7 separate regions of the Homo sapiens genome follow, and all the other regions are linked to region 3. The links are contacts of gene promoters, found by promoter capture Hi-C in blood cells and fetal thymus (Javierre and others, 2016). All regions are on one chromosome and are shown on one strand. Each heading gives the region's core, a stretch centred on a gene start or on the middle of the fragment in contact. The rest is flanking DNA. Distances are from core to core; before and after follow the strand shown.

Evidence for each region. The method cuts DNA at HindIII sites, captures the fragments that hold promoters and counts their contacts. A CHiCAGO score of 5 or more calls a contact.
Region 1: a contact is called between a fragment that was not itself captured here and the fragment with the promoter of TTLL3 in region 3, in 4 of 17 cell types (total CD8 T cells, erythroblasts, naive CD8 T cells and 1 more). The highest score is 7.9, in total CD8 T cells.
Region 2: a contact is called between the fragment with the promoter of GHRL here and the fragment with the promoter of TTLL3 in region 3, in 10 of 17 cell types (activated CD4 T cells, erythroblasts, naive CD4 T cells and 7 more). The highest score is 10.3, in activated CD4 T cells.
Region 4: a fragment that was not itself captured here is called in contact with the fragment with the promoter of TTLL3 in region 3 in 13 of 17 cell types (activated CD4 T cells, total CD8 T cells, naive CD4 T cells and 10 more); the score reaches 10.4 in activated CD4 T cells.
Region 5: a contact is called between a fragment that was not itself captured here and the fragment with the promoter of TTLL3 in region 3, in 1 of 17 cell types (neutrophils). The highest score is 7.1, in neutrophils.
Region 6: a contact is called between the fragment with the promoter of THUMPD3 here and the fragment with the promoter of TTLL3 in region 3, in 6 of 17 cell types (total B cells, naive CD4 T cells, fetal thymus and 3 more). The highest score is 10.2, in total B cells.
Region 7: a fragment that was not itself captured here is called in contact with the fragment with the promoter of TTLL3 in region 3 in 2 of 17 cell types (monocytes and neutrophils); the score reaches 6.6 in monocytes.

What each region holds. Positions count from the first base shown.
Region 1 is chr3:10,192,495-10,196,519 of GRCh38, reverse strand. All of the region lies in intron 2 of IRAK2 (interleukin 1 receptor associated kinase 2), which reads right to left. Among named protein-coding and RNA genes, the nearest start is that of IRAK2, 30 kb to the right of the region's middle. The HindIII fragment of the contact is 326 bases long and covers 1,697-2,022 here.
Region 2 is chr3:10,290,459-10,294,246 of GRCh38, reverse strand. It overlaps GHRL (ghrelin and obestatin prepropeptide), which reads left to right and starts at 1,300. Exons shown (of 6, transcript NM_016362.5): 1 at 1,300-1,405; 2 at 2,796-3,531. It overlaps GHRLOS (ghrelin opposite strand/antisense RNA), which reads right to left. Exons shown (of 6, transcript NR_073568.1): 6 at 798-2,179. RefSeq lists enhancers at 1,108-1,402, 1,213-1,462, 1,473-1,542, 3,054-3,656. The HindIII fragment of the contact is 7,186 bases long and covers 1-3,788 here.
Region 3 is chr3:9,808,122-9,812,195 of GRCh38, reverse strand. TTLL3 (tubulin tyrosine ligase like 3) reads right to left here and starts at 1,934. Exons shown (of 14, transcript NM_001387446.1): 1 at 1,802-1,934; 2 at 1,487-1,575. The coding sequence starts at 1,534. All of the region lies in intron 4 of ARPC4-TTLL3 (ARPC4-TTLL3 readthrough), which reads right to left. RefSeq lists a silencer at 1,753-2,232 and an enhancer at 2,713-2,862. The HindIII fragment of the contact is 3,571 bases long and covers 576-4,074 here.
Region 4 is chr3:10,260,776-10,264,877 of GRCh38, reverse strand. All of the region lies in intron 3 of TATDN2 (TatD DNase domain containing 2), which reads right to left. Among named protein-coding and RNA genes, the nearest start is that of TATDN2, 14 kb to the right of the region's middle. RefSeq lists a silencer at 754-943. The HindIII fragment of the contact is 1,822 bases long and covers 608-2,429 here.
Region 5 is chr3:9,379,302-9,383,651 of GRCh38, reverse strand. THUMPD3 (THUMP domain 3 tRNA guanosine methyltransferase) reads right to left here. Exons shown (of 10, transcript NM_001114092.2): 7 at 3,034-3,149; 8 at 343-453. Among named protein-coding and RNA genes, the nearest start is that of THUMPD3-AS1, 15 kb to the left of the region's middle. The HindIII fragment of the contact is 6,287 bases long and covers 1-4,350 here.
Region 6 is chr3:9,360,797-9,364,870 of GRCh38, reverse strand. It overlaps THUMPD3 (THUMP domain 3 tRNA guanosine methyltransferase), which reads right to left and starts at 1,817. Exons shown (of 10, transcript NM_001114092.2): 1 at 1,744-1,817. It also overlaps a transcript of SRGAP3 not described here. RefSeq lists enhancers at 1,368-1,427, 1,448-1,527, 1,598-1,657, 1,878-2,087. The HindIII fragment of the contact is 4,632 bases long and covers 1,229-4,074 here.
Region 7 is chr3:10,209,669-10,213,830 of GRCh38, reverse strand. IRAK2 (interleukin 1 receptor associated kinase 2) reads right to left here. Exons shown (of 13, transcript NM_001570.4): 4 at 4,139-4,162; 5 at 430-624; 6 at 283-347. Among named protein-coding and RNA genes, the nearest start is that of TATDN2, 37 kb to the left of the region's middle. The HindIII fragment of the contact is 2,369 bases long and covers 1,633-4,001 here.

The DNA of each region.
Region 1 (4,025 bases), core at 610-3,109, 380 kb before region 3:
TTTCTCTCCAACAAGGGCCTTGCCTGCAGGAATCACAGGATCACTGTCTGCCTCATGGCATCCCACTGCCTTCCACAGGCCCAGGAGGAGAATAAACAGTCCCTAGGCCGGGCACAGTGGTTCACACCTATAATCCCAGCACTTTGGGAGGCCAAGGAGGGCAGATCACCTGTGGTCAGGAGTTCTGGACCAGCCTGGCCAACATGGCGAAACCCCGTCTCTACTAAAAATACAAAAATTAGCCAGGCGTGGTGGTGCACACCTGTAGTCCCAGCTACTCAGGAGGCTGAAGCAGGAGAATCGCTTGAACCTGGGAGGCGGAGGCTGCAGTGTGCTAAGATTGTGCCACTGCACTCCAGCCTGGGCAATAGAGCAAGACTCTGTCTCAAAAAACAACAACAACAGAAAACCAGTCCCTTGTACAGAATGACAATGAACAATGTCGGGGTGAGTGCTGATTCAAGCACGGGTCTGGAACAGAGCTGTCGCTCCCAGGGTGCACAGAAGTGAAAGCTCTGCCTGTGCTCCCTTGGAAGGCTACCCCCCGCCACTCCCAGTCCTCATCTTTCCCAGCCTCCCCTCTCTGGCAGGGAGAGACTGCCTCTCTCCCTCCACCCTCCCTCCTCAAACTGCCTCAAGTGGGGCTTATGCTCCTGGAAAGGCTTGTCATCCTTGTGACATCTGTGTCAAAAGGGCAGCAGTGGCTCCCCTGGCTCAGGGCCGGCTGGGCTCGCTGAAGTCACTTCCCAACAGTGACCTCCTGCAGAGGCCAGGCCCGCAACAGTATAAAATGCTCCCTAAAGGTCTCACCTACACCCAGAACCGCCCATGATCCCAGCAAATGAGGCACCTTCTCCTTGTCGGAGGCCTGCCTGGCTGAGCCTCATTGTTCTCATCACAGTAAAACGGGGATGAGGGTGATACTTACAGCCTTACTTAACTTCAGTGTCCTGTTCCTTTTTTTTTTTTTTGAGACAGGGTGTTGCTCTGTCACCCAGGCTATGCAGTGGTGTGATCACAGCTCACTGCAGCCTCAAACTCCTGAGCTCAAGCTATCCTCCTCTCTTAGCCTCCCATGCCGCTGGGATTACAGGCAACACCACGCCCAGCTAATTTTTAATTTTGTGTAGAGACAGCATCTCACTATGTTGCCCAGCCTGGGCTCAAACTCCTAGGCCCCAGTGATCCTCCCACCTTGTCCTCCCAAAGTGCTGGGATTACAGGCCTGAGCCACTGCTCCCAGTCCAGTGTCCTATTCAGGGTAATGTTTTGTTCAGCACAAATCTTTGCCTCTCTGTCAAAACACATTTGGCAGGAACATCAAGGCCACCAACCCATTTGTGGCCGACCTCTGTGGGCTCCACCCGTGGGGAAGATAAAAAATGTCATTATGTTTTCATCCTAAAGAGAGTCCAGCTTTTCTCTTTCTTTTTCTTGTTCCTTCTGCAGTGACATGCGGTGGCCCCACCTGGCACCACAGGGCATTTGGAAGTGAGCAGGAGTGAGGAACAGATGGGGAGGGGCGGTGTCGGCAGGGCTACCTGTGACCAGACCTGTCAGCACACTTGGGGCTAACATCCACCCTCCCACACAAGAGGCACCAGGTCACACCAGCCACGGATGTAAGCCAACAGAGCCCCATGTCAGCCCCAACAAGAAGTTCTGGTTTCCTGTGAAACCCCCATCTTCTCAAGCTTTGAGTTTTTAGATGTCTTTAAAATGCAAGCAATAAATGGTGCGTATAAACATGAACCGCCCTCATCTCCACCCTGGAGCTGCCGGCATGGTCTGAGCTGGGTGGACAGGCAGGCCCATGCATGCCTGTCCCACTGTCCAAACATGAAGATGGAGAAAATGGCCTCTGTCCTCATCCCTCCAAACCTGCTCCCTGCTAGCTAGAAAGACGCAACGCCCACTCATTCAGGCTGGCACACCAGAGAGCTAGTGAAATAAAAATAGAACACCAAAGGCAGGATGAGGCAAAGGAGGCCAAATGCCTACAAGAAAGGGCTGTGACAAGCTTTAACTCTCGCACTGAGCTTCCTATCTGCCAAGGCCAAGGCTCAGGAGTGAGCTGCTCACGGACTTCTTATCACAGATAGACAGGGGCAGCCTCAGGCTTCCAAGACAGCACTCTTTCCTCCCAGGATTAAATTCTCAAGAGAATTCCACACATAAAGTTGATTCTGCAGGATCATGAGATCCAAAAACACAGACTGTGATCAAAGAGTAGAACTAGGATCACAAGAGTAAGCGTGGGGAAGCGTCGGCTCTGGCTTGAGCCAGACCCAAGCTCTGCGATTCCAGCTTCACGCCCAGGCACAGACCTCCTAACCCTCTGAGCTTCATGCGCCTCTCCTGTGGAATCAGAATAATAACCCCACACCTCCCAGGGCCGTCCCAGGGCTCCATGATGACAAATGTGAAGTGGCTGGCCCAGGGCAGGGGCCCACAACACTGTGCAAACAGCCACCCTCCTTCAGTTCTGCCAGAAAGGTGCAGATAGAAAAGAACCTCTGATTCCCAACTCGGGCCTCCGAAGGAAGCATTTAGGGTGGAAGGCTATTTTTAACATTTTAAACACTCTAATGGAAACCGATTCTAGGTGGGCAGCAACTTGGTGCACAGTCCCGAGAGGTACAGTGGCCATGAGAGCAAAGTAACATAGGAGCCCAGCAGCAGGGGAGGTGGGGGCCTGTGCCCACGCCATTGGCAGCCAGCCTCAGTCACACACTGGAGGTGGGCAGCCCAGGGTTCTCCCTGCTGGGACCCCCAGGGATAGGAAGGGGACGCAGGTGACGGAAGGAACAGCTAATCTATAGCTTAGGTGGCCACAGGCACCAGAAGGTTGACACGGCAGTTCTCAGACAGAGTCTGGATTTTTTGTTTTTGTTTTTGAGGCAGAGTCTTGCTCTGTGACCCAGGCTAGAGTGCACTGGTGCAACCATAGCTCACTGCAGCCTCTACCTCCCAAGTTCAAGCAATCCTCCCACCTCAGCCTCCCAAGTAGCTGAGACCACAGGAGCACGCCACCACGCCAGGCTAATTTTGTTTTTGTTTTTGTTTTTGTTTTTTTTTGGTAGAGACAGGGTTTTGCCATATTGCGCAAGCTGATCTCAAACTCCTGGGCTCAAGCAATCTACCTGCCTTGGCCTCCCAAAGTTCTGGGATTACAGGTGTGAGCCACTGCACCCAGCCTGGAATCTGGATATCCGTGAAAGCTGCCTTGCTGAGGCTGAGAACCCACAGTGATGAGGGCTGAGTCCCAGATACAAGGAGGAAATGGGGGAGGGGCAGAAGCGCTTCTCTGTGCCCCTGTCATGGTTCACCAGAGCTGGTTGCCAGGCATGATTTCTTTTTCTCTCTGATTTGTTTTCGGAATGCCTGTGCTCTTCCTAATGAGCATGAATCACTGATGCCACGGAAGGCAAATGAACTCCCGCAGTCTGGAGTGTGTCCTGCAGTCAGGCTCACCAGCAGGGGGATCCTCCTAAGCCTTGGCTTCCTCATCCGACAAATGAGATGTGGAAGTGGACCCCCGACCCGAGACCAGCCATGAGGATAAAAAAATTAACACCCAGCAGATCTAAGCTACCATCATTTGCTATAGTCTCGCTCTGTTGCCCAGGCTGGAGTACAGTGGCACGATCTCTGCTCATTACAACTTCTGCCTCCTGGGTTCAAGCGATTGTCCTACCTCACCCTCCCGAGTAGCTGGGATTACAGGCAGACACCATCACGCCCGGCTAATTTTTGTATTTTTAGTAGAGACGGGGTTTTGCCATATTGGCCAGGCTGGTCTCGAACTCCTGACCTCAGGTGATCCGTCCGCCTTGGCCTCCTACTACTGTTATTATAATGACCACTCTAACTCTAGGTCAGGCTTTTTTTCCTAAGTTCTTGCCCATATCTGTGGCCTATTTAATTCAGGTAACAGCTCTGGGGGATAATTGCTACCAAGTATAAGGTAGTTGTCTTATATCTGAAGAAAGCGAAGCCTAGAATGCAGATTTATTTATTATGTG
Region 2 (3,788 bases), core at 51-2,550, 480 kb before region 3:
AAGCCCCAGTGAGAGAGGCAGAGCTTGGCGAAGAGGAGGGATGAGAGAGCATGGCTAAGGTCAGGGAGGATTTAAGAGCGATGGCCGCCTATCTAGAATGAGCCGCATGTGGCTGCTGAGCATTTGAAACATGGCTAGTCCAAATTGAAATGCACTGTAAGAACACACACTGGATTTCAAAGACTACACATCTGTAATCCCAGCACTTTGGGAGGCAAAGTCAGGCAGATCACTTAAGCCAGGAGTTCAAGACCAGCCTAGGCAACATGTCAAGACTCTGTCTCTACAAAAAATACAAAAATTAACTGGGTGTGGTGGTGTGACCTGTAGTCCCAGCTACTTGGGAGCCTGAGGTGGGAGGATCATCTTAGTCCAGGGAGGTGGAGGCTGCAGTGAGCCATGATAGTGCCACTGCACTCCAGCCTGGGTGACAGAGCAAGAACCTGTCTCAAAAAAATATATATGTATATTCATTTAGACATATGCTGTTGCACACTTAGACTATAGTATGGTATCAGCATACGTTTTATATTTACTGGGAAACCAACAAAATTCGTGTGACTTGCTTCATTGTGGTCTGGGACCAAAGCTGTAATGCCTCCAAGGTATGCCTGTATATTTCTATTGCAAAATGTGAATCTCGAAATTATAAAAGCTACAACTAGGACAAAAAGCAACCCCACCAAATAGCCCTATATCAAAGAATAAAATCTCTTTCTAGAACCCCAGAATTTGCCTCTTTCAGACTGAAGTTTAGCCAAATCTATGAAAAAAGAGCTTGCTAAACCAACTAATTATCAGTACAAATAAAATTATAATGAAAAGTCTATGAAGATAATTTGTTCTCAGATGCCCTTCACATATAGCAATTAATTCACAAATGATGAGTCACTCATGTGCCTTCATGAAGGCAGGCCCTCAAGAGACCCGCAACAGAAAGGAAAGCCACCGACTGGAGAGAACCTGCTTCCTGAGCCCCACCAAGTTCCAAAAAGGAGAATGGGGCTTCGTCCTCACCCTCAAGGAGTTGCCAAACTGGGCTTGGTTATTATTCACACTTGAAAAGAATGAGGAAGGTCAGCCAGTCCCCTCCAGGTCGCTCGGGCTTCCTCCAAGCTCCTCTTGGTTCAAATTTGCTGTGTCCTCCAGCCGGCATCTCTCCTCTGTTCCGTAACTGACAGGGCAGCGAGGTAGCTTCCGGATGACTCCTCCCGCCATGGTTCTTCCGTCCATCAGCTCTTCCTTCCTCAACTCTGTGGTATGTGGCTAGGGGAGTTTCCAACTCCCAGGGGACATTTCAGTTCCCCAAAGATAACACAGCTTTGCACAGTGGATGTTTACTTGCTGGTGGTCTTATCTAAGATCAACATTGGCAGCTGTGCCCGGAGAGGCCTCCAGGGTCCAGGTAAGTGGAGGCTTCATGTCTCAGGAGGTACCTGGTCACCACAGTTAGGATTTTTCTGTTTGGGGATTTTTTTTTTTATGGGTTGGTGGCTCTGAAAAAGCTGCAAGTCTTCTCTGAGGACTACAGACCTCTCTCCACCCTCTCCACATTCAGCCTCTCTGGGCTCCAGGGCCAAAAGATGTCTACACTCAGGTGGCAGACAGGCCTGTGAAGACCTCCTGGTGACATGCTCATATGTTGCTGGGACTAAAGGTGGGATTTTAGCCACCACAGTGGGTTGGTGGTGAGATGTTTACCAACAGGAGGTACTTTGTCCCTCATGTCCACTTAAAGATTCAGTCCAACCCGGCCTGTGCTTCTGCTGTCCCAAGAGACTCTAGAAAGCTCCAATCCTCCCTGAGGTTGATCTTTTAAGTCAGGGTAGGTGGTCATTCGGCAATCAACTGCTCTACTGCCTCAATGTCCTCCTCACTGGACGTCCTGCCCCAATTCCATCCTGTTCAGCGCAGACTGATTTTCCTGGAACACAATGTTCATTATGGAGCCAGATGGCATATCAGAAAGAGCACTGTATTAGGAGTCAAGAGATCCATGGGGGAATCCCAGCATTGCCCCTGATGGCTGTATAGCTTTGGGGAAAGTGAGGCCCTCTTGGCATTCAGTTTTTCTTCCAGCGAAATAAAGGATTCAGCCTCCCAGAGCTTTAAAGTCTTTCCAACTCTTTCATTCATTCTATGGTCTCTCTCTCCTCAAGAATCCTCAGTGGCTGCCCTCCTGCAAAAAAAGCCCAAACTTCTTGGGCTAGCAGTTCCCAAGGCATCCATCACCTGGCCCCAAACCACCTTCTTATGTTTTTGTTATGACCCCATCGCCACCCTCCCCCAAGCCACCCAGCCTTCTCCATGCTGCCCTGATGTACTCTACCCACGCCTTCACCTCCCCTCTGCTTGCCGCAAAGCCCTCCCTCCAAAGCCCTGCCCCGAGTTCACCACAGGCCTCTTTCCTGGAGCCTTTGCTAACATCCCTGCCGCAAGCCCCAGCCTAAGGTGAGCTCCTCTCCTGAACTGCTAGAACTTCTCTGCAGACAACTCATTGGCCCTTAGGGGTTCCTGCCTGGGCACCCAGTTGGATGAAGCACTCCAGAAAGGAAGAAATTCCTGGGGCCGAGGGAAATGAGGCAGTGGCCTTGGCCTATGCTGGGAAGTCCTATGGGCCTGGTATGAAACCATTGTCATCTGCAGGGTGTTTCACAGGTTAGAAGCCACTTTCCCCCCATCGCCTCATTTCACCCTCAAAGACTCTGGGTAAGGGGAATTATTTGTGGTCGGCGTAAGGCCAGTCAATGAGAGAGGAGCCAGGCCCGTGCTAAGCGTAGATCTTCCACCTCCAGGTCCAATGCACTTCCCTCTCAGAAGAGGCATCCGCTAAAATAGGGACCAAAGCTGCTGGAGGGAGGCAAGGCAAGCTGCTATGTGAAAAAACGCCAGGCCAGGCAGTCATGTCACACCTGGCAGAAATGACTGAAGCATAGCCACTGGCTGAAGTTATCCCCACACCCACTCTCTGGAGAGGATGATCAGGAGCAGTCTGCTCAACCGGGAGGTGGGACTCCTCCTCGGGAAGGTGTAGAATCACCAGCCTGGCTCCCTGCGGACTCCCGGGGCTCACAGAGGCCAGAGCAGCAACAGCACATGGGAAACAACGGGGCGCTGGACTGGGGAGGTCTCAGAGCTCTCCTAGTGATGACAGCCTCATTTTACCCAGGGAGAAAGGGCGAGTAAGCTAAGGTCACACAGCAACAAAGCTGCACCCAGACCCCAGAGCCACTCTCCTCCCTCCCTCCTCCACCAGGGCCATGCCCACTTGGGGCACCCCGCCACCGTGTTCCAGGGACAGCTGGAGCACATGCTTCTTCCCTCGCCAACCCAGCAATTCCGCAGGGCATCTGACCTCCACTGTTGACTTCTACCCAGAGGACAAGAACATTTTTAGTTCCCAAGGAATGTACATCAGCCCCACGGAAGCTAGGCCACCTCTGGGATGGGGTTGCTGGTTTAGAACAAACGCCAGTCATCCTATATAAGGACCTGACAGCCACCAGGCACCACCTCCGCCAGGAACTGCAGGTAAGCTCTCTCTACTCTCCGTGTGCGTTTGCTGACAGGTTTATTGTCCGTGACTGCTGCCCGTCCGTTTAACCTCTCTGGGCCTCAGGAGTCCCCTCTAAACACGGGGGATGTCGGACTGTCTGGCTGGAAGACAGAGCTTCATTTAGGAGCTACCTCTAACCCCCTCCCTGCTGAGTGCCCTGGGGCCCTTGCTGGTTCAGCTTCCTCCCTCCTCATGAAAAGACTCGCCATGAGCTCTCAGAGCCTGGGACAAA
Region 3 (4,074 bases), core at 685-3,184:
TCACTGTGTTGGCCAGGCTGGTCTCCAACTCCTGGCCTCAAGTGATCCTCCTGACTTGGCCTCCCAAAATGCTGGGATTACAGGTGTAAGCCACCGCGTCTGGCCAATACTATGCATTTTTATTAGATACTGTTATCTCCATTTTACGGGCTATGAAACAGAGGCATAGAGAAATTAAGCAGGGTGCCTGAGGCCCCATAGTGGTTAAGCAAAAGAGCAGGGATTTACATCCTGGCAGTTTGGCTCCAGAAACTGCATACTTAATGGGATCCAGAGAAACTACTTAGAAATACATGGTCAGGGAAGGTTGAAAGGAAGCCATGAATGTACAGAGCTGGGAAATGGCGGTTCAGGCAGAGGGGAATGCATGTGCAAAGGCCTTGAGGCTGGAGAGAGGTCAGAAGGAACTGAAGGGAGACCAGAGTGAGTGGAACATGGAAAATGATGGGGAAAGCCCCAGAGGAGGTAGGCAGTGGCCAGACTGTGGAAGGCCCTGCAGGCCTTGGAACGGACTTGGATTTCATACTAAGAGTGTCATGAGCAAAAAAGGCTAACTGAGGGAATCTTTCTAAGCTTGGCTTGCTGCTGTATTACAAAAAGATGAGGGGACAGGATGGAGGTAGACCAGCTAGGAGGCTGTCATAGTTTGCCTAGGAGAGAAATCACAATTACTAAAATGAAGGTGGTTACAACACAGACGGGAGAAGGTGCTAGAGTTGAGAATCGTTTTGGAGGTGGAGATGACAAGTGGTTTTGCTGATGGAATTAGACCTGTGGGTGAAGAAACAGAAAGATGAGATTTCTGGCGTGAGGAACTGAGAGATGGGAAAGACTGGAGACTGGGGAGGACGACAGGTTTGGGCAGGAAGATCAAAGTCTGGTTTGGGACATGAATTTGAAATGCTTGTTAAGTTTTCTGGGTGTAGATGACAGGTAGGGGCTAGATCTACGGGATGTGGAGTTCGAGGCTGGGCTGGAAGGGGCACGGAGAGGGTGCAGCACACTGACTGGACTCAGCCAAGGACACAGCCAAAGGAGACAGACCTGGGGAAGGGGCCAGGGGGCCACTAATGGCTGAGGAACCTTTAAAGGCCGCTGAAAAGCAGCAGCCAAAGAGGGAGAAAGGAAAACTAGGAGCGTGCAGTCAGACAGCCAAGAGGAAGGGTGTGTGGGGCAGCGGTGTCGAAAGATACAGGGTGCCCAACCGAGATCAAGACCGAAAGGCACTGCTGGGTTTGGCTCCCTGGAACTCACCAGGCACCTTGATTAGAGTGGGACATCGCAGGGAACCAGAGTGGAGGGAGCCCAGAAGTTTGGTGCTGAAGGGGTAAACGGGGAGGTAGTTGAAGATGGGTGTGGTGGTTGAGGATTTTTGCTATTGTTTTTTCTTTTGCTTTTGTTTTTTAAGGATATAAGAAAACAGCGCAGGGAGACAGGCTGAGCCGCTCCCAGGGCCCTTTCTAAGCGCCCCTGCCCCTCCTCTGACCTTGACAGCTCTCTCCACGTAGATTTTGGCGTTTCTGAGCCGGTTCATGTGAGACGCCTTGGAGGATCCTCGCCAGAGGACCGGGAAACCTGCAGAAAGATGCGGAATAGGGGCGGGGTACACTGAGGCTGGGCCTAGGGTCTCGGCCTAGGATCTTTTCTGGCCGCCCATAGCCACGCCTCTTTTCTTCCTCCTGCCTTCATCCAGATGCCCACCCTCAGCCGCTCTTCTCCCGACCCCCAGTCCCTCCACCCCAGCGTCTTGTCGTCCTCGCAGCCGCTGTAGGCCAGAGCGAGCGGGCCGCACGGGCCTCACCATCCTGCGGAGAGGGGTCGAGGACCGGGGTGTGCGGGGGGCCGAGGGGGTGGGTATCCGAGGCGCCCTGGGCGTGGGTGCCTGGGACCAGCGTCTTGAAGGCGCCGCTGAGGCGGCGCGCAGGGGCGGGGCTGCCCGCCTGGCATCTGCCGCCTGCGTGACCCTCCTCGGACTGGGCGGAGGCAGGGCCGGCCCATGGCAGCCTCCTGGGTGGACGGAACTCGGAGCGGCGCGCCGAGGGGAAACTGGTGCGTGGCTCGAGCGGCTGCGGCTTCCGCAGCCAGTTGCACACCGCGCCGCCCTCCTGGCGGTACCAGGAGGCCGAGCCCCGGCGCCCGGGCCCCAGCTCCCTCGCGCTCAGGAGCAGTGGCGCGTCGGGGCCCTGCATGCGCCCCTCGCCGCGCTCGCCCTCCCAGGGCCCCTGATCCCGCGCCCCTCCGCGTCGCCGCCTCCTCTCCCGGGAAGTTCCTGCCTAGGCTCGAGCCTTGTCCTCCGTTCCAAGCCCCGCCCCGTTTGCTATTGCCTTGGAAACCATTCCCTGGGCACCATCAGACCGCTCGGGGCTGGTTGGGGGCTGCGATGGGCCCCGGGGCAGTCGAGCGAGGGCTTCCTTATGACCTGGGGCCTCACCCAGACCCTTGATGAGCAGGGCACTGAAGGCGGAAGAGAGCACTGAGCCCCAGTTAGTTAGTGTTGCGGTTCCTTATCCAGTACTTCCTGGTGCCACCGGCCCTAGGGTTTGAGTGATTCCACAGTATTTATAGGCGCTAACAAATGGCCCCTGACCTCATGGAGCTTACTAAAAGCCCAGTGTGAGGGGAATAAAAAGCAAGTAACAAAGGAAGAGAATAGTTTACAGGTATAATAAGGGCAATGAACAAGCAGAGGTGAAACCAGGAAGGGGGCGCATTTTAGATAAAGTGGCGCATTTAAGCTGAAGGTGTAAATGCCAGGAGTCAGGAGTCACCAGGGAAAGGGGAGGAACTGCACTTCAGGGAAGGGACAGTCCCAGCAACAGCCCTGAGAAGGGTAAGAACCTCTGTGCGAACTACAAGACAGCCAGGGTGGCTGGAGCCTGGTGAGGCCAGATCAGACCTGCTGGGCCTGGCAGATGGGCCTAGGGTAAGGTCCTTAGCGAGGGCAGCATATGGGGGTAACAAGAAGGTGCAGAGCACACCCTCCCCAGAAACTGGAAATGGAAAAACAATCATTTGAGTCAACTGCGAAAGAAATGTAATAGTTCACAACAGTTATGCCTGGCCCCCAGGCTAAGACTGTAAGCAACCTTTTTGGAAGCACTGGCAAAATATTATCCTCAAAAGTCACAGGGGAGGTAAGGCTCCAAGATGTTAAACAATTTGCCTCAAATCACAGAGCAGAGGCAGCACTGGAACCCAGGTCTGACTCCAAAGCCTGTCTCTTAAACACCTGTTATCACTCAGGTTGCCTGCCAGTCACAGAAGGACCACACAGGGACAGTTTGAGAGGCAAACTCTAGCAGTGCCCCCGCAGGCAGAGTCGAAGAGTGTCCTGGTAAGAGCCCAGCTTTGTCAGTCACTGGGTAGATGTGCTCTTAAGAGTGAAGGTGGATCCCCCACCTTCCTGTCCAGCTGACCCCAACTCCCCTTTAGCTGATGGCTGGACTTCCCGAAAAGCATGCCCCCCAGGAAAGGTGATTTAGGGAATTTGGACCCTGGGAGAGAGATACATGACAAATGAGGTTTGTGGCTGGCTCACCCAGGCAATGCTGTCCTGTGAGGGTTGTTGAGTGACCAGCTGCTATATCCTATTAGTCACCCAGTTTCACTGTGAGCACCTTTAACATTCACTGCAAAGCTAGAACATAGCCATGTGCCCTGGAGGAGGGAACACCTAATTCAGAGGGGTGGCGAGGTAGGTCACAGAGGTAATGTCATAAAGGAGATGATAGCACTTTGGGAGGCTGAGGCGGGGGGATCACCCAAGGCAGCCGAGGCAACATAGTGAGACCTAAAAAAAAACAAAAACCAAAAACAAAAAAATTAGCTGGGCGTGGTGGCACAGGCCTGTGGTCCCAGCTACTCAGGAAGCTGAGGTGGGAGAATCACTTGAGCCTGGGGAAGCTGAGGCTGCAGTGAGCCATGCTTGCGCCACTGCACTCCAGCCTGGGTAACAAAGCGAGACCCTGTCTCAAAAATGAAAAAAAAAAAGGGGGGGGGAGGAGGGGGGCAATAGCTGTTCCAAGTTGCCCTTACCCCCTCCTCCCTTTAACATCACCTTGTCCACCCCATCAG
Region 4 (4,102 bases), core at 269-2,768, 450 kb before region 3:
ATGAAACCCCGTCCCTTCTAAAAATACAAAAATTAGACAGGCATGGTGGCATGCGCCTATAGTCCCAGCAATTCAGGGGTCTGAGGCGGGAGAATCGCTTGAACCTGGGAGGCAGGGGTTGCAGTGAACCAAGACCAAGCCATTGCACTCCAGCCTGGGTGGCAGAGTGAGACTCTATCTCAAAAAAAAAAAAAGAAGATAAAGTTGAAGAAACCATCCAGAAAAATTTTTTAAAAAGGATTCACTGGGAAGAAAAGAAAATTGGAATTTCCATCCGAAAGACCAAGCATAAAATAGATGGTCCAGAAAAAGAAGAAACAGACAAGAAATCAAATAATCAAGAAATTTTCCCAGAACTTTTCTAGGCTAAGGATGTACTGAACAAATTCGACTTATTTTACTCTTTCCTGAAACCTCACTAAAACTAAAGAATCTAAAAACCAAACAAAAAACAAATAAAACCCCTCTACAATAACAAAAACACCAGAACAGGAAGAACAAGAGACTACAGTGATCACGCACTGGAGGCTAGAAAGCAGATGGCCAAATAACACCTCACTGGCAGACCAAGAGAAGGCTGAGACCTAAGCTAGGCACCAGGAAAGCTTAGAACAGAGCAGGCACTCGCGGTACTGGGCACCTTGGGAACTGGAGGAACTGGAGTTACAGAAGAACATTAAAAGGAGGAGGACAGGGTGAAATCTGGTTTCCAATGAGTTAGATCCCAGATTCCCTCCTCATACTCAGAGAAGGTGAGTTGTTTGAAGACAGTAAAACAAGAGGATCTCTAGAATAAGGCCTGGTCAGCTCAGTGGAGGGCACTGGTACTGCACCAAAAAGACAAAGATTAAGTGAATGCTGACGCCGCCCCCGCAGCCGCCCCTTTCGCTACCCAGCTCCCAGCCACCTTTCCTCCTAAGCAGGCTGAAAAACACTCCTCTGGGCAAGGTGACCAGTCTCGAGGCTTTCCTAAAAGCAGTGACATGGCAAGGGGAAGAGGGTTATATTCTCCCGATCATCCCAAAGCAAAGCTCAAAGTCTTTACGCTCAGAGCTTCCAAACAGCTTTTTAATCCTCCCATTCTTGATCATAAACAGACAACCAAAGATTACCAGACATGTGAAGGCAGCCTCTAACACAGAAGAGATCAAAAGAAACGGAAAGAAGCAACTTAAAGAAAACTAAAACCAAGCCAAAAAACTACCATGAACTCCCTAAAAGAGATAACAGAAGATGAAACAAGAACAGAGATGTTATTAAAAAACAAAAGAGCTCTTGGATAATAAAAAGCATGACAGTAGAAAAGTAAAACTAAATAAACAGCTGGGTTGGAAGATAAAGAAAAGGAAATATCCTACAAAGTAAAGCAAGAAATTGGCTAGAAACAAGGGAGAAAGGCAATAAAATTACAGGACCAGTCCTGAAAAATCCAACATCCAAATAAGAGAAAGAAGGTAGAGAAGCTAGAGAGAGAAAGAGAGAAGAAAAATACGGAAAGAAAACATCAGCGAAGTACAGTAATTCACGAACTTTTCCCACAGCTAAAGTACAAGGGTTTCTAGATTGAAAGGGAATGTCCCATGCTAAGCAAAGTAGACACCACCACCATGAAATTTCAGAGCCCTGAGATCAAAATATATTCTACAAGATTCCACAGAGGGAAAAAAAAAAAAAATACAGGTTGGGCACGGTGGCTCACACCTGTAATCCCAGCACTTTGGGAGGCTGAGCCGGGCGGATCATGAGGTCAGGAGTTCGACACCAGCCTCACCAAAATGGTGAAACCCCATCTCTACTAAAAATACAAAAATTAGCCGGGTGTGGTGGCACATGCCTGTAATCCCAGCTACTCACAAGGCTGAGGCAGGAGAATCGCTTGAACCTGGGAGGTGAAGATTGCAGTGAGCTGAGATCACGCCACTGGACTCCAACCTGGGTGACAGAGCAAAACTCTGTCTCAAAGCAAAAGAAAATAAAAAATAAAAAATCATATACCAAGGTTCAGGAACCAGCATAGCTTCAGACATCAAGAAAACCAGAAGAGGCCAGGCGAAGTGGCTTACACCTGTAATCTCAGTACTTTGGGAAGCCTAGGCAGGTGGATCACCTCAGGTCAGAAGTTTGAGACCAGCCTGGCCAACATGATGAAACTCTGTCTCTACCAAAAATACAAAATTAGCCAGGTGTGGTGGCGTGTGCCTGTAATCCCAGCTACTCGGGAGGCTGAGACAGGAGAATCACTTGAACCCAGGAAGTGGAGGCTGCAGTGAGCCAAGATCACACCAGTGCACTCCAGCCTGGGCAAGACAGAACGAGACTCCACCTCAAAAAAAAAAAAAAAAAAAAAAAAGCCCAGAAGAAAAGGAGCAATGCCTTCAAAATCCCAAACAAAACAATTTCCAACCTGGAATTCCAAAACCAACCAAGCTTGTAATCAAGGTTAAAGGTAAAATAAAGGCAATCTCAGACACATGTTTACCAAAAAAAGTTTCTCCATGTACCCTTTCTCAAGAAGCTACTAGAAAAAGTATTCCACCAAAATGTGAGAGTAAACCAAGGAAGAAGAACATGAGAAGACACAGAGTATAGGTAGCAGAAGACTCAATCCGGGAGAAATGTGAAGGAGGCTCCAGAGAGACAGCTGCCAGCTGGCCTGACGGCAGGCAGTCCAGACCAGAGCAGGACAACAGAGGGCTGAGGACGTATACCTCCAAGAGAGAAAAAAAAGAAACAGATTCCTTATTTTGACAGTATTGAGAAGGATTTTACAGCTCTCGCAGTTTGGGGATTAATTAGTGAAAGGTACCAGGAAAACCAAAGGAAAAACAAAGTAATGATGAACTTTAAGGAAAATGAAGTTTTACAAGAAAGAAAATGTGATCAGAGTATACAAGGCGACTCAGCTGTGAACATGGCAGTAACAAATCTTACACAGACTTAACCCAAAAGGTATTCAAGCCACACAGGGAGGCTGCAGAAAGGGGAAGCTAATGTGTCCCTGGGTGTGGGTGCTTCTGAAGGAGGTATAGAGAACTAAATTCTCATCGCCCAAGCAAGAAGTCCTCAGACATCTAAAACTGAAAAACTGATCAACAGTAAAGATTATTTAGAAACATGGGGTAAGTACTAGAAGAAAGAGCTAAAGATGAGAGAAGCTGCCTGCAGAGCAGTAGTAAAGGATGGGTGGAGACGAGTAAGATGGAGGAATGTGGCCTGGCACAGTGGCTCATGCCTGTAATCCCGGCACTTTGGGAGGCCAAGGCAGGTGGATCACGAGGTCAGGAGTTCGAGACCAGCCTGGCCAACATGGAGAAATCCCATATCTACTAAAAATACAAAAATTAGCCGGTTTGGTGGCGCACACCTGTAATCCCAGCTACTCAGGAGGCTGAGGCAGGAGAATTGCTTGAACCCAGGAGGTGGAGGTTGCAGTGAGCCAAGATTGCACCATCGCACTCCAGCCTGGGCAACAGAGCAAGACTCTGTCCCAACAACAAAAAAAAAAAAAAAAAGAAAAAGATGGAGGAATGCTTCCCCTCAATTATAAGCTATGTTAAAAATCACTAGTTTCCGTCCAATGACATCCTTCCCTTCTTCTCTGGTTATCCAGGTACAAGTCTGCCTAGATAAAGGCTGATTTTCCAGACTCCCTTGCAGCCAGGTGTCAGCCGGGTTTCCCCGCTCTTGTCAACAGCAGATACAACATGTGCAACTCTTGAGCCAAGCTCTTAACAGGGAAGGAATGCACTCTCCTCTTCTCCCCTTCCCACTGGCCAGAATGCCCAGATAACAAACCCTGAGTCCTATCAGAGTATCCATTTCACACCAAGAGATGGACACTGTGTTGAGGGGTGATAGAGAATCAAGACAAAAGGTACCAGTATCTCTGACATGATGGAGCCATCCTTCTTAAGCCAAACTTATATTCTGTTTAAGCCACTGTGATTTTGGCCTTTTACACAGCAGCTAAACCCATATCCTAACATATAAATCCTTCAAAAAAAAAAAAAAGCACTTAGTTTAGGTTTATTAATAACTCTGAAAATCTGAAAAGTATGTTAGAAGAAAACCATCAGTTTGTTCCCTGGAGGCCTGGTTAAGT
Region 5 (4,350 bases), core at 922-3,421, 430 kb after region 3:
GCTCTGTCTCCAAAAAAAAAAAAAGAATCATTTATGCTGAGAAACAGAATGAGAACCAAGTCTTCTACCACCTTTTTGTGTAGGATATATAATTCAAGAATGGGCTAGAAAGTGAATTACAGGTAATTTAAAAATGAACCTCCCATGATGGTCAGGATTCCAAATGTAGTTAATACATTCCTGAGTTCTCGGAAGAAACATAATGGGTGAATCCATCATGTTGTTAAGTGAAAAACAGCTCTGCTAAGTCTGCTAAAATTCAAGATTTTTTTCCTGACTTAGAATAAACGCAAGGAAAATAATGACATATTTAGAAGACAAGCAGGTACTAGTATTTCTCACCTTTTTCCAAATGGCAAATCTGTTACAATAATATCCACAGAGCCAGTTCTCAATGGCAGATTGCAGATATCCCACTGAACAGCATCTATGGGCAAGCCCCAGGAGGGTTTGCTGTGGGGACAAAGGAAAGGTGCTTCAACATACTGTGAAGCATAAAGTTATTACAACAATTTTTGTTTCTGAAGAGAGACTGCTACAGCAAAACATAAACTGCTAAGGATATCAGTGATAATATCAACCTATTCAAAATTTAAGAAATGGCACAAAGGTAAAAAATAGGTCAGGCTGGGCATGGTAGCTTGTGCCTATAATCAGCACTTTCAGGGGCTGAGGTGGGAGGATCACTGGACTCCAGGAATTTGAGACCAGCTGAGCAACACTGTGAGACCTTGTCTCTAAAATACTTTTTTAAGAAGTTAGCAGGGCATGATGGCACACACCTATAGTCCCAGCTACTCAGGAGGCTGAGGTGGGAGGATCACTTGAGTCCAGGAGTTGAAAGATGCAGTGAGCTAGGATTGTGCCGCTTTACTCCAGCCTGGGTGACAGAGCAAGACCCCCGTCTCAGAAAAAAGGGAAACAAACTGAAAACATGATTGTAATGCAGAGAACTGCAAAAGACAACTTTAAAAACAATGCTGAAGCAGTAAATTACATAACCGATGATACAAAAATTTAAGTTGCTGATAAAACATACACTGGAGAAAAACAATACTAAAGAATAGATAATGGGGTGATGTATCTGAAGAATAAAGTTTGTAAAACTAGTAATAACAGGAGGCCTAAAAGAAAAACAGATAGTAAAATTGGCAAATATATAGGTAATTGTTTCAAGATGAAAAACCAAAAGGAAAATATGTGCCATGCTATATAAAACAAGACTAAGAAAAAAGTTAAGATAAAAAATATAGATGACAGAAGACAGAATGAATAATAATAAATACAAAGGATTTAAATCCTCCTCATTAAGGCAAAGCAACTGGTTTAAGAAACAAAATAATGCACAGGCTAAGAACTGAAGATAAGTCAAAGGTTATCAGCAGAAATTAAGGATTTAATTGACATTTAATGAAGAATTTAAGAAAAAAATGCAATAAAAGCAATCATTACATAATTTTTAAAAGTACACATAAAATATGTATTATAACCGCATACCAATAACTGCACAAAACAAAAGGCAAAAAATATTAAAAACCAAAGTAAAATGGATAGAAATGTACAGGTTGAGGCCGGGCACAGTGGCTCATGCCTGTAATCCCAGCACTTTGGGAGGCCAAGGTGGGCAGATCATGAGGTCAGGAGATTGAGACCATCCTGGCTAACATGGTGAAAACCCGTCTCTACTAAAAATACAAAAAAAAAATAAGCCGGGCATGGTGGCGGGTGCCTGTAGTCCCAGCTACTTGGGAGGCTGAGGCAGGAGAATGGCGTGAACCCGGGAGGCGGAGCTTGCAGTGAGCCGAGATCAAGCCACTGCACTCCAGCCTGGGCGACAGAGTGAGACTCCGTCTCAAAAAAAAAAAAAAAAAAAAAAAAAAAAAAAAAAAAAAAAAGTACGGGTTGAACAGACAGTGTAGGTACAAACAAGATAAAATATTCAGAAGCTAGAAAGGTACGTTTGTTTAAATGTTTATCAGTTTTAATTAAAAAAAAAAAAGACTGGCCATATACTAGGCTCATTAAAAAAAACCCTCAATAAATATGAAACAACCATTCAAAATTAATTCATCACAATAAATCAGTATTTAAGAAAATTGAAGCCTTCCAACTACTTGTCTTAATACACGTAAAAGGATTTAATGTTGATACATAGACCAGCAGCATCAGCATTGTCCTGGAGTTTCCTGGAAAATGCAGACTCTTAGGTCCCATCCCAAACTACTAAATCAGATCTGTGTTAACAGTACTCCTAGGTGATTCACATGTACATTAATGTTTGAGAAGCACTGTCCTAAAAAATTAGATCAGAGAGACAATGAAATATATAACCAATGACTTAGTAATAAAATAGAGGCGAGGCTATATAAACTGCAGTATTTCTATACGATGGAATTTATGTAGTGACTTTAAAGACTATGGTCCAGGTGTGGTGACTCGTCTCTAATCCCAGCAATTTGGAAGGCTGAAGCGGCAGAATCTCTTGAGGCCAGGAGTTTGACACCAGCCTGGACAAAACAGCAAGACCCCCATCTCTACGAAGATTTTAAAAAATTAGCTGGGCATGGTGGCACATGCCTGTATTCCTAGCTACTAGGGAGGCCAAGGCAGGAGGATTGCTTGAGCTCAGTAGGTTGAGGCTACAGTGAGCCATGATCATGTCACTGCACTCCAGCCTGGGTGACAAAATGAGACCCTGTACCCAAAGCAAAAAAGAAGCCTATGTAAAAATATACTGTTTAAAATTTTGTGAAATTAAAATGAGTCTATAAAATATTCTTCCAATATGTAGGGGAAAAGACATATGAATAAGACAAATGAAAAATTGCATATGGTGGGGAAATTATCGCTAAAATAATATTTTAAAAATATAACTTATTTTCAATAAACTTTAAAAATGTAAATGGAGTCTCATAGTATATTCATTTTGGTTACAATGACGTCACAATGCACTGGGAGTTTTAATTCATAAAGTCAATATAAAAAGTGATTCTCTAACTCTAAAAGATGCTAAGAAATCTTTTAAATTTTTACCCTTCTTTAATTTGGCTCTTGGTCAATAAAGATGCAATGTTATTTGCTGCTCTATTCACAGCCAGTGGATTATTATCACCAGCAATATGGAAACAGTCAGACCATTCAGTGGCCCCCTAAAAGATAAGAGTGTATGTTAAAACAAAAGTAGCAAACTGTAAAATATGATTAAATTGTCAACAAACAAAGAAAATCCAGTGCTTTTCTAGAGTGGCAAAACATTGCATGTTGTCAACTGTGCTATTTCCCTGGCTGAAAATGCCCTCTTATTCTTTCTCTGCTTGCTGAACCTCTACCCATCTCTTAAGACCCAGCTCAAACCTCATGCCCTTTCAACATCAACCTTAACTCTCCAAGCAGTCTTATGTGCCCCTCCCAAAAACACTTTGTATGTACGTACCTCTGCCACTGCACTTGTCCCACGGTTAATTATTTCTTCCCCTTTATGCCTCTCAACTAACCTGGGAGCTCTCTGAGGTCAGGTCTAGTATTTTATTCAGTTCCTCATCCAGCAGTGTCTGGCACACTAAATTCTAAGTTAATGCGGTTTGAAAATATTTGAGATTTGTGGTTGTGGGAGTTTACATAATCTGATATATTTGAAAATTGCAAAATAAAATGCTATTTCCGGCCGGGCATGGTGGCTCACACCTGAAATCCCAGCACTTTGGGAAGCTGAGGCAGGAGGATTTCTTGAGCCCAGGAGTTTGAGACCAGCCTGGGAACATGGTGAAAGCCCATCTCTACAAAAACACAAAAATCAGCTGGGTGTGATGGTGTGCACCTGAGTCTCAGCTACTCGAGAGGCTGAGGTGGGAGAATGGCTTAAGACAGGGAGGCAGAGGTTGCAGGGAGCTGAGATTACACCACTGCACTCCAGCCTGGCTGACAGAGCAAGACCCCAGGTCAAAAAAATAATAGTAAAATGCAATTTCCTTTGTATGATAGGCTTTTGAATGGTAACCACCATATCACTGGAAGGATTTTGTAATTATAAATAAAAAACCTGTCAGCAGAACATAAATACCAAGCTGTCACATGTCATTTGTGGAATGAGGTGACGTGACCCTAGGCCTGAACAATGTTCTATGCAGATTAACAGAAGGTTTCTGACACGAAAGCCGGGAAAGGTCTGCCTCTGCTTAGGGGTGAGTAGCAAACACCTTTGTGTTCCTTTGTGAACAGTAACATACTTCTCATCCATGAGTGCAGTGTTTCATAACTTTTTCTTTTGCCCAGACACTTGAGGGTGATAACATACCCTGTCTACAATCCTACGATGACATCAAACAAAAGGGAAGTTGAAGTATCCCAGAA
Region 6 (4,074 bases), core at 568-3,067, 450 kb after region 3:
CACAGAGTGCAGGCTGTAAAACATGATGTTATTATTAAAGAAGCAATACAGATACCATGGGAGAAAAAGAGACAAGAAGTATTTCCATAGCATGCAATGTTTGCTTTGGGGTAACCCATGTTGACAAAAGCCATTTCATAACTACGACAGAAACTGCAGATCACATTCAAATCCATTTCTGCATCTAGATGTTAAGAACATGGTTAGTTAAGAATATAGGGCTTGGCTGGGCGTGGTGGCTCACACCTGTAATCCCAGCACTTTGGGAGGCCGAGGCGGGCAGATTGCCTGAGGTCAGGAGTTCAAGACCAGCCTGGCCCACATGGTGAAACCCCGTCTCTACTAAAAATACAAACATTAGCCAGGTGTGGTGGTGGGAGCCTGTAATCCCAGCTACTTGGGAGGCTGAGGGAGGAGAATTGCTTGAATCCGGGAGGTGGAGATTGCAGTGAGCTGAGATCATGCCACTGCACTCCGGCTGGGGTAACAGAACAAGACTCTGTCTCAAAAAAATAAATAAATAAATAAAATAAATAATAATAATAATAATAATATGGGGCTTTTGGAGTTTCAGATAGATACAGGTTTGAATTCTTGCCTCCACCATCATAGGTTGAATGACTTATGGCAAATTAATTCTCCCAAACCTTCAAATGTAATTAAGTAATTAGTAATACCTCTTTCCTAGAGTCGTTAGGAGACAAGTGAGAGTAGTACCTGGTTAGGCCAATAATTAAAACTTATTAATAGGCTATCTATCTTCTTCCCTCCTGTGAAATAGCATTTCATGCATTTAAAAATGATTAACTGGGCTGGGCACACTGGCTCATGCCTGTAATCCCAGCACTTTAGGGAGCTGAGGTGAGTAGATTGCTTGAGGCCAAGAGTTCGAGACCAATCTGCGTAAGATGGCAAAATCTCATCTCTACCAAAAACACAAAAAATAGCTGGGCGTGGTGGTGGGCGCCTGGAGTCCAGCTACTTGGGAGGCTGAGGTGGGAGGACTGCACTCCAGCCTGGGTGACACAGTGAGGCCCTGTCTCAAAAAAAAAAAAAAAAAAAAAGAAAAAATTAAAAATAAAAATGGTTAACTGAATACTTACTATCTAATGATTACAAATGTTCAAACGCCTACTACTTGCCAGACTCTGGGATCCATAGATGGGCATCAGGAGAGAGATCTTGGAAGTAATCCGAAATAGTAAAACAAATTTCCTATGCATAAGCTTTTGTGTGTGCTTGGGGTGGGGGCCGGGGGAAGTATTAGAGAGGTGGAGGGGCCATAGCTTACACGAGATTTTCAAAAGGTCTGTGACTCAAAATAACTTAATTGAGTACAGAATACCTATAATGTCCTTGTGCTGTGCCAGCGATACACGACAGTGTTTAACACTACGTCAGTTCCCGCCGTTAAAAAGCTGACAGTCACTGTGAATACAATCTCCATCTTCTAAAAAATGCAGCTGAGGTCAGCTAAAGGACGCGTTCCGCACAAGGTCAGAGAGCCAATGAGAGGCGCAGAATGAAAGAGAACTCACGTCTCCCAACTCCCACCTACAGGGCCCGGGAATCCTAGGGAGCGGGTAAAGGCCTGGGAGAGGGAGCAAGATGGGCTCCGCCACGAGATCCGCCTGAAGTCCGGCTCGGCGCCGGCCTCAACTGCAAGAGGAAGGCCACCCCTCTCTCCCCAAGCTGAAACACCAGAAGAGCCACACTCGGCCGTTCCCAACCGCCGCCAGTTACCGGCCGCCAGCGAAGACCCTTTCAGCTCCCACACTCCATTGGCCTCTTGCGGTCAGGTCACGCCGCCGGAAGCCGCCCCCGGAAACGGAAGTCAGGCTACGAGTCACGGTGGCTCCGCGCTGGCGGCGGGTTCCCCCACAAGGTCTTGGGGAAAGGAGCATGCGCTGGAAGCTGTGTGCTGTTGGTTTTGAGGATCTTCAGTAAGCTGAAAGCGGAGAGTCAGGGGCCTTGTGTCCTACCATGGTATTTGCTAACGTTTAGAGAGTGCTTCCCCTTGCCGAGCACTGGGTAAGCGCTTCACATGCGTCATCTCATTTGGAACAAGTCTCTTTTGTTCTAGCACCTATGAAGTGGCAGAGACTGATTTCTGTTTTAAAGCTGGAGACACCGAGTCTCTCCAGCTTATTTAAATATCTTTCTCAAAATGTCATGCCACTAGTTCCTGATTTCTGTATTGCCATCACTATTTTAGCACTGTTTACTTCATATTTTTCTTTAGTTTAAAAAAAATAGAAATAGTGGGGCTCACTATGTTGCCTAAGCTGGTCTCGAACATCTGGGTTCAAGTGATTCTTCTGTCTAGCCCTCCTAAAGTGCTGGGATTACAGGCATGAGCCACTGTGCCCAATCAGATGAACTTTATTTCTCATAAAGGGTTGAACCTGGCCGGGCACAGTGGCTCATGCCTGTAATCCCAGCACTTTGGGAGGCTGAGGCGGGTGGATCACTTGAGGTCAGGAGTTTGAGGCCAGGCTGGCCAACATGGTGAAACTCCATCTCTACTAAAAATACAAAAGTTAGCTGGATGTGGTGGCCTGCACCTGTAGTCCTAGCTACTTGGGAAGATGAAGCAGAAGAGTTGCTTACCCAGGAGGCAGAGGTTGCAGAGAGCCAAGATTGTGCCACTGCACTCCAGTCTGGGAGCAAGACATCATCTCAAAAAAAAAAAAAAAAAAAAAAAAAAAGAGTTGAACCTGCATGGTAGCCATTTTGACAGACTGGGAAGCCTAGCTTCCAGTCAGAAGCCAAAAACAGGCACTTCCAGGGTTGGAAGAATAAGACAGGGATTTATGCTAAACACAGTGGCCAAATATACATGTTAAATAAACTGTAAGAGGGGTCACGAATATTTATGAAAGGAGCAATTTGTGCATGTGCAGTTGAGCTTCATGCCTCTCTGTGGATCCCATGTTTAAAAAATGGTGGCCTTAGCATGATCCAAGGGTAGAGTTTTCTACCGCTTGACTTCAAAAGGTGAAGCAGGGGATGTGAAAACCCTCACTGCACGTCCTCTGTCGACTGGCCAGAACCACTCCCTGGATGGTGGGTGATCTCTTATCAGGAAGGAATGCTAGTCGGTTGTTCTATTGAAACTGCAAATGGGAGGGTCAGCATCAGGCTGGTGGAGTGAGTCTTTCAAAAGGGCTGGTTTCTGTTTAACCCTTAGGAAAGAAAATCTAATGGCGATTATAGAGGGAGGGGTTATAAAGAGGTGTGTCCGACTTCCCATCCTGTCATGAGTAGGAACTCAGCTTCCAAGTTTTTTCTAGGGTCTCCTTGGCCAAGAGAGGGCCTGTTCAGTCAGTTGGGGGGCATAGAATTTTATTTTTATTTTTCAGTTGACAAAAGTTAACTTATTGTGAAAGGAACCCAACAACAAAAAGATAAACCGAATTTAAAACAAAACAAAACCAAAAAGAACACAATTTATAAATGTGCAAAGGGGCTGGGAGTGGTGGTTCATGCCTGTAGTCCCAGCGCTTTGGGAGGCTGAGGTGAGTGGCTCGCTTGAGCTCAGAGTTTGAGACTAGCTCTGGCAACATGGCAAAACTCTGTCGCTACAAAAAAATGACAAAAATTAGCTAGGCATGGTGACACTCACCTGTAGTCCCAGCTACTCGGGAGGCTGAGACAGGAGAATAGCTTGAGCTGGGGAGGTTGAGGCTGTAATGAGTTATGATCACATCACTGCACTTCAGCCCAGGTGACAGAGTGAGACCTTGTCTCAAAAATAAAATGAAAAATATGTAAAGGGCTTGAATAGATATTTCTCCAAAAGATGGACAAATGGCCAATAAGCACATGAAAAGATGCTGAACATCATTAGTCATTAGGGAATTGCAAATTAATCACAATGGGATACTCATCAAAATGACTAAAAGTAAAAAACAAAAAATCAACAGTTCCAAGTTCTAATGAGTATGTGGGGCAATGGAGCACTTATACATTGCTGATGAAAATACAAAATGATATATGCCCTGGTATGTTTTAGCTCTGTGACTCCACCTAAATTTCATCTTGAAGTATACTCCCATAATTCCCATATATTGT
Region 7 (4,162 bases), core at 1,568-4,067, 400 kb before region 3:
ATTGCTACACAGGAGAAGAATGGACTCTGGAGCCAAACCAGGTAGATCCAAATCCTGGCTCTGCCACTCATTAGCTGTGTGACCTTGGATGAGACATTTAACCCCTCTGTGCCTCAATTTACCCATCTGTAAAATAATGTGATAATAGTAGCTACATTTATAGGGTTCTTGTAAGGACTAAATGAGTTTATATATAATAGAGTGCTTAAAACATGACTGGGCACACAGGAAGCACTATATAAAGGTTAGCTATCATTATTACTAAACAAAGGGGAGGCTTACCTAAGACAAATCTGCAACTCTGCCTGGAAGAATCTTTCGATTGATCCTGGACTTGAACAGGCTGTCTGTAGAGAAAGACATCAGAACATGAAGATCCCGCCCCACCCCTGCAGCCTCCACCCCCACTAGAAACCAAGAAGTGCTCACCTCTCTGAGCTTCTTGAAGACGAATGGCTTCCCGTGCCTGTGCCCTCTGTAGACGTCAGCAAAGGTCCCCTGGCTGATTTTGCGGTTTTGATTGAAGTCATCGGTTGCCTGGACCACGTCTGCCTCACTCCAGAAAAGGCTGTCTCCAGCCAAGCTCAAAAGTTTTTCCTGCTTAGGAATGGAGGTGCTGAAGTCCTGGAGACCCAGAGAGAAGAGATGGAGATTACTATGGAATCTCGTTTTCTCTGCTACCTCAAGGGACCTTGGAACACCAGAGATGGAGGGATGGAGGGGATCAACTTATCCAATGGAAACTGTAAAAAGGACATGGATAGGCCGGGCACGGTGGCTCACGCCTGTAATCCCAGCACTTTGGGAGGCCGAGGCGGGCGGATCACGAGGTCAGGAGATCAAGACCATCCTGGCTAACACAGTGAAACCCCGTCTCTACTAAAAAATACAAAAAAAAATTATCCAGGCGTGGTGGCGGGCGCCTGTAGTCCCAGCTACTCGGGAGGCTGAGGCAGGAGAATGGGGTGAACCCAGGAGGCGGAGCTTGCAGTGAGCCGAGATCGCGCCACTGCACTCCAGCCTGGGTGACAGAGCGAGACTCTGTCTCAAAAAAAAAAAAAAAAAAAGGACATGGATAGGCCCAAGCTCAAATCCCAGCTCCATCTGTATCTTGCTCTGTGACCTTGGGTGAGTTACTTAACCTCTCTGAGCCTCAATTTTTTCCATCAGCAAAAATGAAGGTAACAATAGTACCCCGAAGAGTAATTTTGAAGACTAAGATGTGAGTATTCCTGGCACATGGTTGATGTTTCCTTTATTTCAGTTTACAGAAGTAAGCACTGAGGAAATAAAACAGCTGAAGTGAGGTCCCACAGCTGGTCAGTGGCCGAGCTCAGCACTCTTGGTCTAATTCACAGCATAGATACTGGGGTTCCAGACTCCTGGGAAGTAGGATACAGGTTCATATAACCAAACCAGGGGTGTCCAATTTTTGACTTCCCTGGACCACACTGGAAGAAGAATTGTCTTGGGCCACACATAAAATACACTAATACTAATGATAGCTGATGAGCTTTAAAAAAAAAATTGCAAAAAAAACTCATAATGTTTTAAGAAACTTTACAAATTTGTGTTGGGCCACATTCAAAGCCATCCTGGGCTGCACACAACCATGGGCAAGTAAGACAAGCTTGCTTTAAACAGAATTCCAGAGACTGCATGTGTATATAAGCCTATAAAAAGAAGTTCTGTTTCCGTTTTTAATAACTTCTCTCTTTAAAACACATGTACGTAATTTTTTTTTTTTTTTTGAGACAGAGTCTCGTACTGTCACCCAGGCTGGAGTGCAGTGGTGTGATCTCGGCTCACTGCAAGCTCCGCCTCCCAGGTTCACGCCATTCTCCTTCCTCAGTCTCCCGAGCAGCTGGGACTACAGGCACCCACCACCCTGTCCGGCTAATTTTTTGTAATTTTTTTAGTAGAGATGAGGCCTCACCGTGTTAGCCAGGATGGTCTCCATCTCCTGACCTCGTGATCCGCCCGACTTGGCCTCCCAAAGTGCTGGGATTACAGGCACGAGCCACCGCGCCCGGCCTAAATTTCAATTTTTTTAAGTTACATATGCTCTTAACAGTTTTTGAAAATTAGTATCCATAACCCCATTATCCATTTAACTGCTATTAAAGTTAGTGTATTTCCGGCCAATTAGATATACTAGGATTTATTTAACAAAACTGGTATCATGCCACACACATAGTTTTGATTTCTTTTTGAGACAGGGTCTCACTTTGACACCAAGGCTGGAGTGCAATGGCATGATGTCAGCTCACCGCAGCCTCAACCTCCCAGGCTCAAGGGATCCTTTCATCTCAGCGCCCCCAAGTAGCTGGGACTACAGGTGTGTGCCACCACGCCTGGCTTATTTTTTAAACTTTTTTTTTTGGCGAGGCCAGGCACAGTGATTCACTGCTTGTAATCTCACCATATGTGGGAGGCCAAGGCAGGCGGATCCTCTGAGGCCAGGAGTTCAAGACCAGCCTGGGCAATATGGTGAAACCGTGTCTCTACTAAAAATACAAAAATTAGCCAGGCGTGGTGGCACACACCTATAATCCCGGATACTCAGGAGGCTGAGGCAGGAGAATCGCTTAAACTGGGGAACCAGAGGTTTCAGTGAGTCGAGACAGCCTGGGCAACAGAGGGAGACTTTGTCTCAAAAAAACTTTTTGGCCAGGCACGGTGGCTCATGCCTGTAATCCCAGCACTTTGGGATGCTGAGGTGGGCGGATCACATGAGGCCAGGAGTTCAAGACCAGCCTGGCCAACATGGCGAAACCCTGTCTCCACTAAAAATACAAAAAAAAATTAGCCAAACATGCTGGCATGTGCATGTAATCCCAGCTACTCAGGAGGCTGAGGCAGGAGAATAGCTTGAACCTGGGAGGCAGAGGTTACAGTGACCAAGATCGTGCCACTGCACTCCAGCCTGGGCAATGGAGCGAGACTCCTCAAAAAAAACACAAAAACAAAAAAAACTTTTTTGTAGACACAGGATCTCACACTGTTGCCCAGGTTGGTCTCAAAGTACTGGGCTCAAGTGAACCTCCCATACCAACCTCCCAAAGTGTTGGGTTTATCCTTCATGGAAGGTTGATCTATTTATTAATTTAGAGATGGGGCCTCCCTGTGTTGCCTAGGCTGGTCTCCAACTCCTGGGCTCAAGCGATCCTCCCACCTCAGCCTCCCAAATAGCCAGGACTACAGGCATGTGACACCACACCTGGGACATGGAAGAGCTTCATTAACCACACTCATGCAAAGCTGGCTTCTCCCCCAGGCACTGGATGCAAAGGGTCTAGGCTCACAACACTTTTAGGGGCCATCAGAACATTTTAATTTATTTTAAAATCAGAAGAAAATAAATGGACTTTTAGAGTCAAAGAAATGTCCTCATTTTTAATCCTGCTTGGATTTTATTTATCTTCGTACCAATATGGTCATACATTTTTGGAGACAGGGTCTCACTCTGTCACCCAGGGTGGAATGTGGTGGTAGGATCACAGCTCACTGCAACTTCTGCCTCCTGGGCTGAAGCCATCCTCCCGCCTCAGCCTCCCAAGTAGCTGAGACCACAGGTCGAAAATAAAATAAAATAATAAAAGAAAATAATGGCCGGGTGCAGTGGCTCATGCCTGTAATCCAAGCACTTTGGGAGGCGGAGGCAGGTGGATCACCTGACGTCAGGAGTTCGAGACCAAGCTGGCCAACATGGTGAGACCCCGTCTCTACTAAAAATACAAAAAATTAGCCGAGCATGGTGACATGCACCTGTAATCCCAGCTACTTGGGAGGCTGAGGCAGGAGAATCACTTGAACCCGGGAAGCGGAGGTTGCAGTGACCCGAGATCGTGCCACTGCACTCCAGCCTGGGTGGCAGAGCGAGACTCTGTCTCAAAAATAATAATAATAACAAATTAAAAAACAAGAAGTATATTCACTGAAGTGCCCTCCCTCCCTCTCCCCGCTATTATTGACCTCCTCTACTTACAGTCTTAGAAGCTTGGGGTAATTTGATGGCAATTTCCTTTCTCCTCTCCACCCTTAAACTGGTCTCAAGGGGTAGAGAAATTGCATTTTTGAGAGGGAACTACACGCTGGGAGACATGGCTTGGGGGCTGCAGCCGAGGGGTGGATTTACCTTTGAATCAGACGAAGTGGGGAG